Linked DNA regions of Homo sapiens: all the other regions are linked to region 3. The links are contacts of gene promoters, found by promoter capture Hi-C in human tissues and cell types (Jung and others, 2019). All regions are on one chromosome and are shown on one strand. Each heading gives the region's core, a stretch centred on a gene start or on the middle of the fragment in contact. The rest is flanking DNA. Distances are from core to core; before and after follow the strand shown.

The links. The method cuts DNA at HindIII sites, captures the fragments that hold promoters and counts their contacts. A contact is called where the count stands out against the background at its distance.
Region 1: a contact is called between a fragment that was not itself captured here and the fragment with the promoter of UXT in region 3, in 1 of the 25 tissues and cell types used here (thymus).
Region 2: a contact is called between a fragment that was not itself captured here and the fragment with the promoter of UXT in region 3, in 1 of the 25 tissues and cell types used here (liver).

The regions. Positions count from the first base shown.
Region 1 is chrX:47,498,351-47,502,140 of GRCh38, forward strand. All of the region lies in intron 1 of LOC124905183 (a long non-coding RNA gene), which reads right to left. Among named protein-coding and RNA genes, the nearest start is that of ZNF41, 17 kb to the left of the region's middle. The HindIII fragment of the contact is 4,884 bases long and covers 1-3,790 here.
Region 2 is chrX:47,525,813-47,529,578 of GRCh38, forward strand. No RefSeq gene overlaps it. Among named protein-coding and RNA genes, the nearest start is that of ARAF, 34 kb to the right of the region's middle. The HindIII fragment of the contact is 7,227 bases long and covers 1-3,766 here.
Region 3 is chrX:47,657,752-47,661,351 of GRCh38, forward strand. UXT (ubiquitously expressed prefoldin like chaperone) reads right to left here and starts at 1,429. Exons shown (of 7, transcript NM_004182.4): 1 at 1,364-1,429; 2 at 1,079-1,185; 3 at 31-112. The coding sequence starts at 1,176. It overlaps UXT-AS1 (UXT antisense RNA 1), which reads left to right and starts at 1,082. Exons shown (of 2, transcript NR_028119.1): 1 at 1,082-1,429; 2 at 2,144-2,360. RefSeq lists enhancers at 773-1,276, 1,261-1,520, 1,277-1,778 and silencers at 1,001-1,080, 1,359-1,698. The HindIII fragment of the contact is 10,601 bases long and covers 1-3,600 here.

The DNA.
Region 1 (3,790 bases), core at 1,181-3,680, 160 kb before region 3:
AGGCATAAGAACTCCTTGAACCCAGGAAGCGGAGGTTGCAGTGAGCCGAGGTTGCAGTGAGCCGAGATTGCACCACTGCATTCCAGCCTGGGTGACAGAGTGAGAGCCTGTCTCGAAAAAAGGAATTAAAAAAAAAAAAAGAAAAGAATGCAGGTCTGAAAAATATCTCAAGCACCAATCTTAGGTTTTACAATAGTGATGTTATCAAAAGGAGCAATTGTGGAGGTTAGGAATTTTGTGACCTCCGGCCACATGACTTCTAAACCAGAATTTCTACTCTTGTGGCTAATTTGTTGGTTTTACAAAGGCTGTTTGGTCCCCAGGCAAAAAGGGGGTTTGTTTTGGGAAAGGGCTGTTACCATCTTTGTTTCAAAGTTGAACTATAAACTAAGGCTGGGCACAGTGGCTCATGTCTGTAATCCCAGCACTTTAGGGGTCGAGGTGGGTGGATCACTTGAGGTCAGGGGTTTGAGACCAGCCTGGCCAACATGATGAAACCCCGTCTCTACCAAAAAATTAAAAAATTAGACAGGCATGTTGGCACACGCCTGTAATCCCAACCACTCAGGAAGCTGAGGCAGGAGAATTGCTTGAACCCGGGAGGCAGAGGTTGCAGTGAGCCAAGATTGTACCATTGCACTCCAGCCTGGGTGACAGAGTGAGACCCTGTCTCAAAAAAAAAAAAAAATTAATATATATATACACTAAATTTTTCCTATAGTTAGCTTGGCCTATGCCCGGGAATGAACAAGGGCAGTTTGGAGGTTAAGGGCAAGATGGGGTCGGTTAGCTCAGATCTCTTTCACTGTCATATTTTTTTCAGTTATAATTTTTGCAAGGGCATTTCAGTATTGTTATTCAGAGACTGGTTAACGTGGGTGCCTAGAAAGGGATTAACAGAGCAGGCCTGAGACTGTTATGCTGAGAAAAGCTTGTTCTCAAGGTTTGCCCTTGGCTGGTGTCTGGGAACTTGGATTTCTGGAGGGTTCCCACTTTTCCCTAACTGATAAGGGTGTCTCACTGTGTCTACGTTGTGCTGACAATCTGGTTTATGCTGGCCATCTGCCTCTCTTCTAGGAGTCTGGAATATTAGTGCGTGCTAGGCAGAGGGCACCTAGTGCCTAACTCCCAATAAAAACCTTTGACACTGAGTCTCTAATGGGCTTTTCTGGGCAGAAACATGACACGCTTGTTGCTGCATTTTTGATGCTGGGGGAGGGTGCACTATGTGGGAGCCTTCCTGGGAGGGAAGAAGAGGGAAGATGGATGAGTAAATCATGCCTGGGTCACTATGGAGTTACCTATGGTGTAAAACAGCAGCTGACCTGCTTGCTATCTCTTATGAGAGGTAGAAGTTACCCGTGGCATTTGAAAATGATAAATCCAGTCATAGACAGTTGGCTTGCTGGATCTCCTGGCTGCTTTTGGCCATGCTGGCTAAAGATAGGAAGAAGTGCAGCTCAAAGGATGACTTTGGTTTTTGTTCTCTCCTCCAATTGGGAGGAAAAAGGGCCCAGACATTCCCCCCAGTGAGCTTCCTATGCACTAAAGACAGGCCAGGTGCAGTGGCTCACGCCTGTAATCCCAGCACTTTGGGAGGCCAAGGTGGGCAGATTGCTTGAGGTCACAAGTTTGAGAACAGCCTGGCCACCATGGTGAAATCCTGTCTCTACTAAAAATACAAAAATTAGCCGGGTGTGGTGGCATGCACCTGCAGTCTCAGCTACTCAGGAGGCTGAGGCAGGATAATGGCTTGAACCGAGGAGGTGGAGGTTGCAGTGAGCTGAGATCATGCCACTGCACTCCAGCCTGGGCGACAGAGCGAGATTCTGTCTCAACAAAACAAAACAAAACAAAACAAAACAAAACAAAACAAAACCAACGAAAAGACAATAACAGTTAATTGGAGTTGCTCTCTCTCCTAGGTGGGAGGGGGAAGGGTCAGAAAATTTCTGAAGGCAGGTTTTGGGTGAATCAAGAACGTTCAAAGTTTGCATTGCTCGCTCCTCCAAGTGGAAGAAAAATAGTTAAATCAGTTCCCAGGGCTGGAGCAAGGCTTTAGATAAACCAGAGGTGGAGAAAGAGTAAAAAACATTCCCCCCAAACAAGAAAACCACTCTAGCCTTTTCTACAGCTTAGTAGCTGCCTCTGCAACTCAAAGCCCTCCTTACACTGCAACCTTCATCTCCAGCAGCTGTAATGTTAACCTTGTAAATGCGGTGTGGAAACTAAAGCAACTCCATCTTGGATGCTAATCCACGATGTTGACTTCAGATTAACTCCAGTGCCAGGAAGGCCTCTCAGATTTCCAGTCTAGCTATCTTTCCTTGTGTAAGAGCACATACTTACCACAAATCCTGCCCTTAGGTCTAAATAACCTCAATGTGATCGTTCTTCAATTCTACACATCACTTCTGAATCACCCCTTCCCTATGGTATATAAGCCCTGAGTCTGGGGTTGATGGCACAGGGATCCACTTTCTCCTCTTACCGCTACCTGAGACGCAGACATGGCTTCTGTTTGCAAGTCCCTATTAAATGTTTCCTTCTAAGAAATTGGATATGTCAGCCTCTTTCTTTGGCCTCTCAGCTTCCTGGGACTTTGGGGGTAGTTTTGTATAGACCTGCTCACTGTGGAACATGCTGATTTTACAGCTAGGGGTTTGGGGAAAACAGAGGGGAATGTTTATTCAAAGGCTTTGTATTTTGTGGCTGTCGCATCTGGGTGTATGATAAAATTTAATGTAAAATGTTATCTGCTTTATTTCATCAACATTAGACAAATCATCCTAATAGGGAAAGCTGCAAAGAAAAAAAAACAGTGTTTGTGGAATCAGAGCTCCCTTGCTTTTTGCTGCCTGTGGGTGGATTGCAATTTAAACTCTTTGAGGATTGGAAACAGAACAAGTCTCCATAACCACTGATTTTTGCCCATTGGAGCCTCTGGAAAAAGGGAGAGAACATAAAAAGAGAGGCAATCTCCGGGTAGAAACATGCTTTGGGAGTTTTCAAAAACAGCTTTTAGTTTGCTAATGTGCTCTTGCTGCCATGAACTGCCTGACCCATAGAGGCTAATGGTTTTCAGCCTGCTGTGCATATGTTTGAGTAGGTCTATTTGGCCTCTAAAATGAACAAGATAAAAAGGACTTTTAGAAAAGTCTTGTTTGTCACTTGGGCTTGGTATACAGCTGTCTGGCTCTTCCTTGTATCAGCTTTGCTGCTACTGAAGGAAAGCCAGGGGCTTTTTAAAAATCCCAGATTCACAGATCCTAATTGCCTGTGCCTGCCTCTGAGCTGAAACTTGATGCTGTCTTCTGCAGCTGTTTCGGCCTTGCGGTGAGCTGTGCGGAACTGAAGGCTCATCTCAAAGAACAGGACTCAGATTCTGAATTGTTGCCCATTTAAGACAGCCTCTGTGGGGCTATAAATGACGAAAATACAGATGCTGACCGGATTGTCTGGGTCACATAAAAATGCCAACAGGAAAGGGTGTGGTCTCATGAAACCATCTAAAATTGGGTGGCTGAATGGCTCTAGATTTCTGATACAGAGACTAATTGCATTCTTAACTTGTGATTTCTCTTGAAAGCTTCAGGTTGGGGACGGACACATAACAGAGAATGTGACCCCTTCACCTACTTCACACAGATTGGACTGGTGCCCCTCTTTGAGATGTCTCATTGCTGTTGACTTGTTGCATCATTCAGCTTTCAGGATTAGATGCAGTTTGTGCCAATGGACTGATAGCCTGACTCTATTTCCCTCACCTTTCTTTTCTTTCTTTCTTTCT
Region 2 (3,766 bases), core at 109-2,608, 130 kb before region 3:
AGGCAGGAGAATTGCTTGAACCAAGGAGGCGGAGGTTGCAGTGAGCTGAGATCTTGCCACTGCACTCCAGCCTGGGTGACAGACTGATACTCTGTCTCAAAAAAAAAAAAAAAAAAAAAAAAAAAAGAAAGAAAAAGAGAAAAAAGAATTAAGCTGTGGGAGGTGAGAAGGGATTTGCCAAGTAGACAAAGAAGGCTGCCTGGGAGCAGGGGAGGTGGGTGGGGGGCAGTAGCTGGATCACAGAGGACAACAGGAGGAGCGGAGGAAATGTTTGGTCAGACTGGTGTTTGGGAAGGTTGGCCACTGGCAGTGTGTATGCAAGGGGGGACCTCAGGGAGCGAAGGTGGGTTAAGGGGGAGCTCAGACTGGTGTGGAGCCCTAACATGGACATCTATGATCTTTCTGCCTTTAGAGGGCTAGTTTTCACCAAGTTTCCACCCGCACTGCAACCCAATGACAATGTTTAAATATTCTGGGTGAGTCATTTGCTAGGATTTCTGCAAAAGTATTTGATTCGATCCATTTATGAATCAAGTTGATCCTTCCTTCCTTCTTTCCCTCCCTCCCTCTCTCCCCCCCCCTTCCTTCCTCTTCCTTCCTTCCTTCCTTCCTTCCTTCTTCTGTCTTCATTTGTTGCTCAGGCTGGAGTGCAGTGATACAATCAGAGCTCACCGCAGCCTGGATCTCCTGGACTCAAGCAATCCTCCTAGCTCAGCCTCCTGAATAGCTAGGATTACAGGTGTGCGCCACCATGCCCAGCTAATTTTTTTATCTTTTGTAGAGATGGGATCTTGCTATGCTGCCCAGGATGGTCTTTTTTTTGAGACAGAGTCTTGCTCTGTTGCCCAGGCTGGAGTGCAGTGGCACAACCATGGTTCACGGCAGCCTGAACTTCCTAGGCTTAAGTGATCCTCCCATCTCAGCCTCTTGAGTAGCTGAGACTACAGGCATTCACCACCATGCCTGACTAATTTTTTATTTTTTGTAAAATAAAAAGGTAGATGGGGTCTCGCCATGTTGCCCAGGCTAGTCTCGAACTCCCAGGCTCAAGCAATCCTCCTGCCTCAGCCTCCCAAAGTGTTGGGATTGCAGGCATGAGCCAGCATGCTTGGCCACCAGACTGGTCTTGAACTCCTGACTTCAAGTGGTCCTCCTGCCTCGGGATTGCAGATGTGAGCCCCTGTGCCAGGCTAAGTTGGTGTTCTTTCTTTATGGATTGTTATACCCCCAGGAGAGGCTGATAGCTACCCAGAGTTCTGCCTGTCAGTTTCGAGGTCTCATCTCAGTGACCCACAATCTCTCCAGCTCCCCAGCACTGCTGAGTGGAAAGAGTCTTCCTGTCTTTTCCCCTGCCCCGGGCCCAGGCAGCATCCAGGTAACTGTGGGGCTGAGGCTGGAGCAGGCCAGGCCCATGAAGCAGGTTGGCACCTCGAGAGTTTCTGCTTTTCCTCAGAATCTGAGGTACTTCTTGGTAATGAGGTAGAGCCCAACCTCCTTAAAAGTGACATGCTTGCCAGTGCAGTTTGCTACCATTTGTGTGTTTGAATACAGTTAAAAATTCTGTAACTTTGTCTATAAAGACAAATAGACAAAACCAAGATCTGGAAGCAAAGAAAACAGTTAGGAAATGAAAATTATAATCCAGGTGAGAGGGGATGAAGACTTGAATCAAGGCAGGAGGCGTGGGAGGCAGATGCCATATACTCTTTTGCAAGCTTCTTGTGAACATCGAATTCGATAAGCTGCAGAAAAGCAGCTGGCATGGTGCCTAGCATACAGTAGGCATCAAATAAGTGCTGGGTTGCCACCCACCCCCTCCTTGAGGCAAGTTCTGTCAGAAAGCAGGCCCAGGGGTGTTCTCTGCAGAGAGAAGCCAGGATGAAGGCCTTGTTCCAGCTCCTCGGAGACCTGTGGGTCTGACCCCACATGCCTGGCAGAAGTGCCTCCATTTTAACTGCCTTGGGCCTTCTTGACCACAGTGTGAGCGACCACAGCCCCGTCACAGGCTGGTACTTGGGGCCTCTCCCCTCCTCTCACTTGTGGAGAGTAGGCCCAAAGTTGGGCCTATGTGGCCACATAAGCACTCCATCCTTGTCTTCTCTCCTTGGTTCTTCCCTACTCACCACCACCCCAACCAACAAGAAAGGAAGAGAAAGGTCCCACCCCACATATATTGCCTGTCCCAGTGTTTGATAGGGAAGGAGGTGGTAACACTCGGTGTGACCCCCACGGAAAGACAGTCCCCTCACACCCTGAGTTGGTGCCACACCATCAGCTCTGCAGCGGGCACTTTCAGCTCCTGCTGCTCCTTTGCCACCAGGTCTGGGGTTTCACTGTTCTGGGGCTCAGTCCCATGCCTGTCTTGTGAGGCTCTGGAATCACAGGAAAGAAACAGCGGGCTTCTCTGTGCTGGAGGTCCCCATGTCACAGTGGCCCAGGGCCAGGCCACGACATGAACACTCATGCTGCAGCTAAGAGTAAAGGCTCATCATTTCATCTGGAAACATTGACCTGTTTCTCCATTTTTCCCTTTAACTATCTGGCCACAGCAGGATTCCTGGGCATAAGGGCATAACCCTCCTTGAGGTTTTGCTTTCCAAGTGAGTTGTTTTATTCTAAAAATCCTACATTATACTCCATTTTAGCATTGAGTATCATTATTTCCTTTCTTTTTATTGAGACAGGGTCTCAGCCTGTCACACAGGCTAGAGCACAGTGGCACAATCTTGGCTCACTGCAGCCTCAGCCTCCCCCAGCTCAAGTGGTCCTCCTACCTCAGCCTCCTGAGTAGCTGGGAATACAAGCGCCACCATGCCTGGCTAATTTTTTGTTTTTTGTTTGTTTGTTTGTTGGTTTTTGGTAGAGACGGGGCTTCGCCATATTGCTCAGGCTGGTCTCAAACTCCTGGGCTCAAGCGATCCTCCCACCTCGGCCTCCCAAAGTATTGGGATTATAGGCATGAGCCACCACACCTGGCCAAGTATCATTATTTCTAAAAGAGACTAGCACTGAGGCCAGATTCAGTGGCTCATACCTGTAATCCCATCACTCTGAGAGGCTGAGGTGGGAGGATTGCTTGAGCCCAGGCATTCAAGACCGGCCTGGGCAACATAGGGAGACTTCATATCTAGAAAAAAAATTATATATATAAACTTAGCTGGGCACGATGGTGCATGCCTATGGGCCCAGCTACTCGGGAGGCTGAGGGCTGAGGTGGGAGGATCGCTTTAGCCCAGGAGTTTGAGGCTTCAGTGAACTATGATTGTACCACTGCACTCCAGCCTGGGCTACAGAGCAACCTGTCTCTACTACAAATAAATTTTTAAAAAGTTGCATTGAAGGAATAAGGATGAACCAATTGAAGGAAACACAGAGGAATTTTACAAACAGAGAGACCAGCAGGAATCAAGACCCAGGGACATAAACCAGCACCAGGTGGTGAAGAGACCATAAGCAGATCAGTGAAAAGGCTGAAATGGGAGGGGGCTTGAAAGATGGGACAGTTAGGACGGACCAGGATAGGAACAACCTTGACTCCACTTGAAGGTGCATGGGCCACTTTTTGGAGGTGAGGAAGAACCACTGAGTGGGTTTCAGCAGGAGAACAGGGGAATATTTCTCTTTGGATCTGATTTCCCTGGCTACAGTGTTGAATGACTGGGAGACAAACCAGCAGAGAAGGATGGATTAATCTGCTCAGGCTGCCATAACAACCTACCACAAACTGGGGCTTCCATGACAAAAATGTACTGTCTCACAGTTCTAG
Region 3 (3,600 bases), core at 179-2,678:
AAAAATGGTACCCAATCCCATAGTCTTTACCTGGAGTCGCTCAATGACATTTCTCAGTTGAAGGTATTTGGCCAGCTGCTCATATACCTTGTCTCGATGGTCCAGCACCTTTCTGATGGGACGAAAGTACAATGGTGACCAATAGGCAGCCCCATTCCTCCTAGTATACCTCATATCATGACCCTCTGAGACTCTCATGTCACCATACACTGAAAAGGCTTTTTAGTGCATAAGTTAATTTTCGGCTCTGGGTCAGACTGCCTGGGTTTGGATCTGGGCTCTATCCTTTATAGATGTGTGACTTTGGCAAGTAAATAACCTGTTTGGGACTCAGTTTCCCCATTTATAAAATACAGATGACAGTATTACCTTGTAGAGTCATTAGGATTAAATGAGCGTTTACTACAAAGCATCTAGAATAATGCTTATCAAATGGTAAACTCTCTATATACATGTTAGTTATAATTACTATTATTATACTCCCAATACTGAACTCCAATCATAATGTCCCATCCTCACCCTAGAAAAATCCTCCATCCCTTTTAGGATGCTCATAGGCCTAGTTCTGAACACCTTATTTCCTGCTTAGATTAACAAAGATTGCAATAATATTTCTTCATACTCATTGAACCTCTACTATGTTTCAGGCATCCATGCTAAATTCTTGACAAAGATGGGACACATCAAAAACTCAAAACCACTGCATGGGGAAGGTTCCAGAAAACTCCCCATTTCACAGAAGAGTAAAGTTTATAGGGCACAGAAAGGCGAGGTAGGACGTATTCACAAGGATGAAGAATGGCCGAGCCAGGATTCGAACCCGAGAACTGTGGCTCCAGAAAACAAGCCTTAATCTGTTAAACATCGGAGGCCGCGCATGCGCTGACACGCCCCTGCTATGAACGCCACGTCCCAGCCAAACTGCACCCCGGATGTCGTCCCCACTTCTCGCTCCAAGGAGCGCGGGGCCGGACTCTGAACGCCTCGCCCGCCAATTCAAAGGGTTGGCCCTAACTTTGAACGCCCCACCCACCACGTGGAATGTTCCAAACGCCCCGCCCCCCGCACTGTCACTCACCGCAAGTCCCGCTGCAGCACGTCACTGATGAAGGTCTCGTAGCGCAGCACTTTCTCCCCCGTGGCCTCCACCGCCCGCCGCTTAGGGGGCGTCGCCATGATGGGCTCCTGGGGAGTGGGGAGGGGGAAGACCATGTTGACCGATCCAGTTTGGCCTCACACACAGTTCATCTCTACCCTCTCAACGCTGGGAATCGGCTTGTCCGGCTCAAGCTGGAGGTTCAGCCTTCCGCCCCTCCCAACTCGGGGACCCGACCACCCAGGGACACCCAAGCGCGGCCTTTACCTCAGGCCGCCAGCAATAAGAACGGTTGGTAGGAACCGCGGCTTCCGGGTGGCGCGGGTGAATGACGTAAGTGGCAAGCGCGCTGGCCAACCAAATAGCCAGTTGGGGAGGGGCGGGCCTGAGTGGAAGAAGACGGGCCAAAGGGGAGAAGAGAAGGGCAGGGCTTCACGGAATCCGAGGAGATCAAAGAAGACTAGGGCGTGCGAGCAGGGGCCGTCTGGCAATAAACCGGCCAATGGGGGACTGCAAAAGCGGCGCCTGGAGCCTATGGAGACCGTGTGTGGCTGGTGGGGGTGGGATTTAATGGGATTTGGCGGGTTCTAAGGTAGGCGCGACGCACAGGTGGAGGTAGAGGAAGTGAAGAGTTTAATATTTAAAAGGACCTAAAAATTGACTATGGTTCTGGTCTATAAGGAAGATCCCGTGTGATCTGTCGGCCTGGATATTGATTTTTCACACGGGAGGTTTGGATTTCACTCCTGGCAATGGGACTGAGTATAAGCATTTAAAAGGTTTTAAACAGAGACAGGTTTTCTAAAATTCATCTTTGATAACTCCAGCTCTGCACTCGCAACCCATAAGTGAGGCTCAAGTGGAAATTGACAACACTCTCTGTCTAATCACCTCGTTTGATAGTCAAATGGAGAGGGTGGCTGAAGTCCTCTGCCGAAGATTGGCCATCTTGTAGTTAGGCATAGTTCCCATGTTTTTATTTAAATGGTAAGGTTTTTGTGAATTTATTCTTATGCACTAGAGTGACTGAGTGAATTTATTTTTCAGGTTAGATTTTCAAACAAGAACTTATAACCCAGCAAGAATGGGCCTTTGCCTGGAGAAGAATCCAGACCATGGGATGAATCCCCAAATGCTATTTCCATCTGTAGAGCCTAGAGCACCCACCCCTACCAAGGAAGTCTTCCCAGATAATTTGTGTTTCATATGTAAAAGCAAGTTTTTTTTTTCAAATGCTCAAAACCCAAGCAAGTTAAGCCCTTCCTTCCTTCCTTCCTTCCTTTCTTTTCTCTCTCTCTCTCTTTCTTTCTCTCTCTCTCTCTTTCTTTCTTTTTTTTCTTTTTTAGACAGGGTCTGTGTCCCCTAGGCTGGAGTGCAGTGGTATGATCATGACTCATTGCAGCCTCAACCTCCCAGGCTCAAGTGATCCTCCCGCTTCAGCCTCTGGAGTACCTGGGACTACTGGCATACACCACCACGCCCATCTAATTTTTAAAAAAGTTTTTGTAGAGACAGAGTCTCACTATGTTGCCCAGGCTGGTCTCAAACTCCTAGGCTTAAGTGATTTGCCCACCTCGGCCTCCCAAAATGCCGAGATTATAGGCATGAGCCAGCACACCTGGCCAAGTTAAGCTTTTCTTTGCCCTTAGAACGAGATAATTGTAAAATGAAAACATTGAGATTAGTTTTTTTGGTCTGTAAATCTCATGTTACATATAGTTTAAATTACATTGAGTGTGATTGGAATAGATACTAGGTAGAAAAATATTATCTAGTTAATCTATACCACTTTCCTGTGAAAAGAGAGAAAAGAAGACACATATTTATTTAACAGAGAACACAATTCTGATGGGCTGGAGATGAGTCTGTGTAAGTCTATTAACTTATATTTCACAAAAAAGAATTTTTTACTTAAAAATGTATTTCCAACTTTATTTTTACATTTCAAACCTACAGAAAAGTTGACAGTGAACACTCATATACCCTGCACTTAAGTTCGCCAGTTGTTTTATTTTGAATTTTTAAAATTTTTTTAGAGGCAGGGTCTTGCTCTCTTGCCTAGGCTAGAATGCAGTGGTGTGATCTCGGTTCACTGCAACCTCTGCCACCGGGCTCAAGCAATCCTCCCGCCTAAGCCTCCTGCATAGCTGGGACTACAGGCATGAGCCACCATGCCCAGCTAATTTTTTGTAGAAATGGGGTTTCACCATGTTGCCCAGGCTGGTCTCGAATGCCTGAGCTCAATCAGTTCGCCTAACTCGGCCTCCCAGGGTGCTGGGATTACAGGCGTGAGCCACCATGCCCGGCCTGGATTCACTCGTTGTTAATATTTGATCACATTTGCTTTCTTTCCAGACCATAGGATAATTGTTGACATGGCTGCATAGCATTCCATTCTTTGGATGGCCTCAGATTTTTGAGCCACTCCTCTGTCACTGGATATTTGAATGTGTTCAGATATTTTCGTTGTTATAACCAGGATGGGATAAGTCTTTGCTGTCAAA